Regions from separate parts of the Homo sapiens genome. Here region 1 is linked to region 2. Evidence: promoter capture Hi-C in 16 types of primary human blood cells and fetal thymus (Javierre and others, 2016). All regions are on one chromosome and are shown on one strand. The core of a region is centred on a gene start or on the middle of the fragment in contact, and the rest is flanking DNA. Distances in the headings are between cores, read along the strand shown.

Region 1 (3,042 bases), core at 201-2,700, 270 kb after region 2:
AACAGCGTGGAGAATTCACATAAATTAGACAATCTGATTCTCCCAAGTACAATTCTAAAAAATACAACTTCTATTTTTGTGCCATCAAACTAGTGTTATCTCTTGCTTATGCTTCACATCAATACTCGCTGAATTCCACCACCTGGCCAAACTATGGACATTAAGAGGCTGGTTGGTAAAAAGTAGATATGCTACTGATGACAAGTCAGCTTGTCTTAGTAACAGTCATCCCACTTCTAAGTCATGGGCTTCCAAATAGATAAAGGTACCTTCATAATGACTGTTATGTTTCTCTTTAAGACATTCTTGTGGAGTGGGTTGGAAGACACGTAGAATCCTATGTTAGAGATGCAGAAATTGTTTCACTTATTCAAGGGCTACAGGCTCTGATGATTGCACTGATACTTTAGTTTGAATACCTCCAAATTATAAATTAGTATAGGGTCTAAACTTTAGCTGCATTAGAGAGCAGTATCTTTGTGAGATGAGAGAGAATATTAAGAAGGCCTTAGGTTTAATTTTTATTCTCATTTAACTGCCATCCAAATCAAAAAATCTTCTAAGTAATAGACATCTAATTGGGAAAACAGAGTGAGAGTTTCGCAATGGAAAGAAATTCCAAGAAGTGATGCAAAACGATGCAAGGCAATGAGGTATGGTAGCCTATGGATACAGGCCTTATGCACAGAAAAAAATCATGGGGGAACCAACTGGCAGAATCCTTTTATAGCTGTGGCTATTCTAGTCCCCTCCCTACGATTTCTAATATGGCAGTGACTACAAATGGGACAGGTAAGCAATGATTCCTCCCAGCCAGTGCCAGAAGGGAGTGCCTGGGGAAGGGGAAGGGCAGGACCACAGCCATCTTGCTTTCTCTCTTACGGGAGAATAACCGCTTCTTTGGAAATATGCAATTGTTACTTGGCAGGTGCCCAGGAGTACAATGCTGATTCAGTTTCCTTGGTCCCCTTCTTCTTCCCTGCTCCATCCCCTGCCACTCTGCCATCACACCCAGAAGAGCTGGTTGGCTGGCTGTGTAGTGCCATATTATGCAATGTCATCCGACGTGGTGCAAAACAGCTCTTGCTGCTAATGGCCAGTATGGCCTGGTAGGCCTCTGGGAAGAAGCCTCTGTCAACTGGCCTGATAATGACATTAAAATAAGCTTTCCACATACAGCTGATAATCTGTCTCATTAAATGTTTCAAGGAAAACTAAGCTTCACTGTTTAGTCAAACTGTTAGGTCTGAATCTCTTCCATGGCCTTATTTTTGGGGACACATAAAATTGCTTGGATGAAGTTTACTTTAAGGATCTAGGCTCTTCACCAAGAAATGTGAAAAGGCAAATTGTCACCCTGTCTTGAGTCTGAGAACGTATTTGGCACCCCATCCCCATCCTGACGAGACAGAAAAACCCTTTTCTTGTTTTTCAGGCTGATGAATTCCACTCAGAAGGCTAATGCGGAGGCCACAGCAGGTGAAGGCTATGACAGTGTGGGGGTGTGATGGGTTGGAGGGGGGAGGGTAGGGCTGTGGGCAGATTTCTGATTTTGTGTAATGTAGAAGACAAACCCCCAAACAAAATCACATGCTTTTTCCTATTGATCATGGAGTCTTGCGGGAAGAAAAGACCAAGAGACATCAGTGCATTCACTGCCTTCAGACAGAACCAGAGCTACCAAAGCTTGGCCCTGCGAACAGCTTTGATTTTAGACTTCTAGACTCTAGAATTATGAGACAATAAATTTTTGTTGTTTCAAGTCAACAGTTGGTGACAGTTTGTTAAATTAGCCCTAGGAAACTAATACAGGGGCTGATATTTTTATATTTCTAATAATCTTCTAGGTGATTATGTTGCTGCTGGTCCATGGACATTTTGAGGGGTGAAGTGACTCTAAATAAATGTATTATTTTGTTACTGATCATTGGCACTTAGCACGGTGCCAATACATAGATATATGTATGTTTCTATAATCCCTGATTTCCAGAGGTTTTTCCCATGAGCCCCTTTCAGAATATCAATCTCCACGGAGTCCTTTACTAAAGCTATTGTACTCATTTAGGAAGTATTGGAAGTAACTTTCTCATAGAAAGCCAATCCCAAGTATACAGACAGCCATAGTGCCCTCCTAAAACCTCTAAATAACAAAGTTTGCATGACCTTTGGACTTCCTGTCTTGTCTATATAATTTCTCATCTAATAATAAAAACTTCAACCCAGTCTCACACACGTATATCTTTGGTGGCTTAAATAGGGCTTTTTCTTTCCAACATGTTAGAGTGTTAGGCTTTTGGAAAGAACACATGCTAATAATTACGCCAAGCTGGTTAGAGATAATGGGCAACAGAAAAGTTATTATCTTCAATGTCATCATATGTCTTTGATATGATAATCATTGCATTCAAGATATCAGAAATGATGGATGGCCTTTGATTTAGAGGGTATCCACGATGCAAATTACCTGGCTCTTTCCCACTCCTGTGTAGAGGTGAAGAGCCAGCAAGAGTGAGCACCCCTAGCTGCAGTGCCTCAAGCCACTGGAAGGCAAAATCTGAGACAGAACTCCAAGGGAAACACTTCTTCCTTTAAAGATACTTAGGGCACCTCACATTTTCCTTTTGCAGACAACTTCTCGCATAGTCTTCATTTGCCGCCATTGCCATAATGTACACTACTTACAACCCAAGTCACTCCACTCTGTTAATTTTCTGGCTAACAGCTGCTGATATGTAAGTGCCATATTGCTTCCAACAGGTTCACTGAGTTCCTTCCATGAATATAAAATAAATATTCCACGAAATGTTGGTAAAAAGAGAAAGATGAAATATTACTGTATTTTAGTAGATATTTTAGAACTGCTGCAAGATTTTGTTAGGGTTTGCGGTGTTATGTCCCAGCACATTTCCCCCGTAATTAGTCTTATCCTCCTTCTTACTCTCATAGCACAGCTATCACGGGAAGCAAGTGCGTATCATACACTATCATTCAGGCTTTCAGGTGAATGGCATAACATAGTGACTGAAAAAACCTACCCACTGC
Region 2 (2,894 bases), core at 274-2,773:
TCCTGTGGAGACAATAGCGTGTGGTGGAACTGCCTGAGTGCTTACTGAGAAGGAGAAACCAAGCGCAGATTGTATAGAAGCTGACGAATGAGTCCTCTGATTGTGGACAAGTGATGGCGCTTTTTGTAAAATTGTGTATGTGTTTACCTCAAGTAGTGAAAAAAAAAAAAGAAAAAACAACTTTTGGGGCAAGTTGGACCTTAGGAAGGAGATTTCTGGGTCTCGGGGTTTCTCTTAGCCCCCAGTGCCTGGTGCCTGCGGCCGGTGTCGCCTCAGGGAGTCCCAGGCTGTTCTGTGGCCTCCAGAAGGAGCCACCCCGCCCCTTCCTCGCCCCACTCCGCTTTGCCTTCCCTTAGCCTGGGGAGCCTTGCCGCCTCTCCACCTTCTCTCCTGGTCTCCTCGGGCGCTCTCGCGCTGGCACCTTCAGCTCTGTCAGAGTCTGAGGGGAAACCAAAGGAGGCCAGGCGGTGTCTGGAATGCCCCATCCGACTGCTTCAGGCTCCCAGACCGCTGACAAAAGGAAAACTGGTCCGTCGCTTTCTGAATGATGTATCGAGACCGCAGTGTATTTTTAGCATCTGCTGTTTGTGGTAACATAAGTGAAAACTGCTGGACCCGTTCCCTTCAGCTGAATGGCTGGTATTCAGGGGCCTGTGCCCGCTCCCTGCCAGACGCTCCTCACAGAACTCCCTTTTTACGAGGTGGGCGACTGGCTCCCTGGCACCAGGCTGCCCCACCACAATTCTTTATTGCCCAGCGCCAGTGCCCAATTGCATGAATCCCCAGGGCTGCAGGCAGCGTGAGGGGTGCGAATGGGACGATGCTGGCTGCGGGCTTGTCAGGGTGTTCCCAAGTTGTGTGGCAGAGTCTGGAGGGCAGGGGTTGTCCGGATGTTCCAAACCTCCAGCGTGAGGTGGGCACTCAGGTGCGAAGGAACCATGGTGGCGAGGCCCACAGGTGGCGTCCCATCCCAGAGCCATTTTGCCGGGGCCTGGCTCTGCAGTAGTCACTGACACCGGAGATCCCCTGAGTGACCTGGAAACTATGAGAGACCCCAGGTACCCCGACAGGTCATTCTACTAACTGTGGCTGTGGAGCTCCAGCTCATCTTTGGAAGACGGAAACGCACTGGAAAGGGTATGAATGGACGCAGAAGGCCTCGTGGGGGCTCTCTCAGTGCCACTGTAGAGTGAACACAGGGCTGGAATCCAAAATAGCACCAACTTGCTGAGTGGCTTTAGGCAAGAAACCTTTCCCCAGGTCTCACTTTCTCACTTAGAATGATGAATAGTGATTCTTGTCCTACTGACCTCACTAGGACGTTTTTAATAAGGATGAAAGCACTTTGAAACTGTTGAAACCATAACATCACAAAAAAAAAAAAAAAAAAAAGAGACAGAGTGACGAAGTAACGCAGGTCCCATTTATGTTCTTAATTTCTGACCAACCTTAACTTCCATCAAAACTGCTTCCACTAGCCCCAGCCAGGAGAGCCGTTGCATCGTGGTGGGACATCATCAGGCTCTCCAACGGACATCGCTTATACTATGAGAACTCACGTTCAAGGGAGGTGTTTACCTCTAATTCCCACAGAACTAGCGTAAGTAAAAAATGGGGCAGCAGGATCCTTTCCTTGCAAAGTGTGAGCAAGTGCCTCTGTAGAGTAAAACTTTAAGTAAAAGGACTACAACGGCAGTGACAGCTCCTTTATCTGAAACTGCAGACTTTTAAGAAGGTTCTTAGCAGCCACACCGATGTCACAAATTCCATAAAGCAAGATCACCTAGGCACTCTCTCGGAGCTAATTTTATCTCATTTTATATATAATTTTAATAAGCCTGGCTCTCTCATTTTCTAGCCCCTTATTACTGAAAATGTGGCTCATGGACCAGCAGCATCTGCACTATCTGGGAGCTTGTGAGGAATGCAGAATCTCAGGCCCCACCCTTCACCTTGAATCAGAATCCACATTTGGATAAGATCCCCGTGTGTGTGTGTGTGTGTGTGTGTGTGTGTGTGTGTTGTGCGGGGGAGGGTAAAATTAGAAGAGACTTGCAGGGCCTAGGCGCACTCTCAATTTATTGTATTTCATTATGGAAAGGATTTGGGATGACTAGAATTAATAACTTAGAAGGAGTGAGGTGACAAAGAACATTAAAAACTATTGCATCTGGGACCATTTAATATAGGTTTGTTTGTTTGTTTGTTTTGAGACGGAGTCTCACTTTGCCGCCCAGGCTGGAGTGCAGTGGCATGATCTCGGTTCACTGCAACCTCTACTCCCCAAGTTCAAGTGATTCTCCTGCCTCAGCCTCCTGAGTAGTTGGGATTACAGGCGCCTGCCTGTAATTGTATTTTTAGTAGAAATGGGGTTTCACCATCTTGGCCAGGCTGGTCTTGAACTCCTAACCTTGTGATCCACCCGCCTCTGCCTCCCAAAGTGCTGGCATTATAGGTGTGAGCCACCGCACCCGGCCCATTTAATATAGTTTTATATCCGAATGCCCTTTAATACTCTGAGAATACACTGTTACAACACTGTATAGTCATTGATATTCCCAGTAATAGTCCCAAATTATCAAGAACAGGCAAAGTCATATTCTCCTGCTGTTTAAAGTATTTACCTAATGTTCATAGTGGAAAATTCTCCTTTAAAATGGTTAAATAAATCTTGATCTTAAACCGATGCTTCAGTGATCTGAATACTACATGAAACAGCACGTTCTCTCTAAAGAGATAAGTGAGATGGTACTATAATCGGAAACCTCTGTTAATTCGGATTTTGTTTTTTATGCACATTTTAGAGAGTCAAATTATATCAAGATAAAATATGATAACAGAGATTTACTCTAAAATTAAACAATGAAAAAAACCCTACCAGTGCAACAAAAAGG

What was found. Contacts are between HindIII fragments. The CHiCAGO score rates a contact against its expected background, and 5 or more counts as called.
Region 1: a fragment that was not itself captured here is called in contact with the fragment with the promoter of SCG5-AS1 in region 2 in 7 of 17 cell types (M2 macrophages, endothelial precursors, M1 macrophages and 4 more); the score reaches 21.5 in M2 macrophages.

What each region holds. Positions count from the first base shown.
Region 1 is chr15:32,943,273-32,946,314 of GRCh38, forward strand. The region is part of intron 9 of FMN1 (formin 1); the gene reads right to left. Among named protein-coding and RNA genes, the nearest start is that of GREM1-AS1, 230 kb to the left of the region's middle. The HindIII fragment of the contact is 467 bases long and covers 1,218-1,684 here.
Region 2 is chr15:32,671,542-32,674,435 of GRCh38, forward strand. SCG5-AS1 (SCG5 antisense RNA 1) reads right to left here and starts at 1,524. Exons shown (of 4, transcript NR_135505.1): 1 at 1,449-1,524. All of the region lies in intron 10 of ARHGAP11A-SCG5 (ARHGAP11A-SCG5 readthrough), which reads left to right. All of the region lies in intron 2 of SCG5 (secretogranin V), which reads left to right. The HindIII fragment of the contact is 5,358 bases long and covers 1-2,894 here.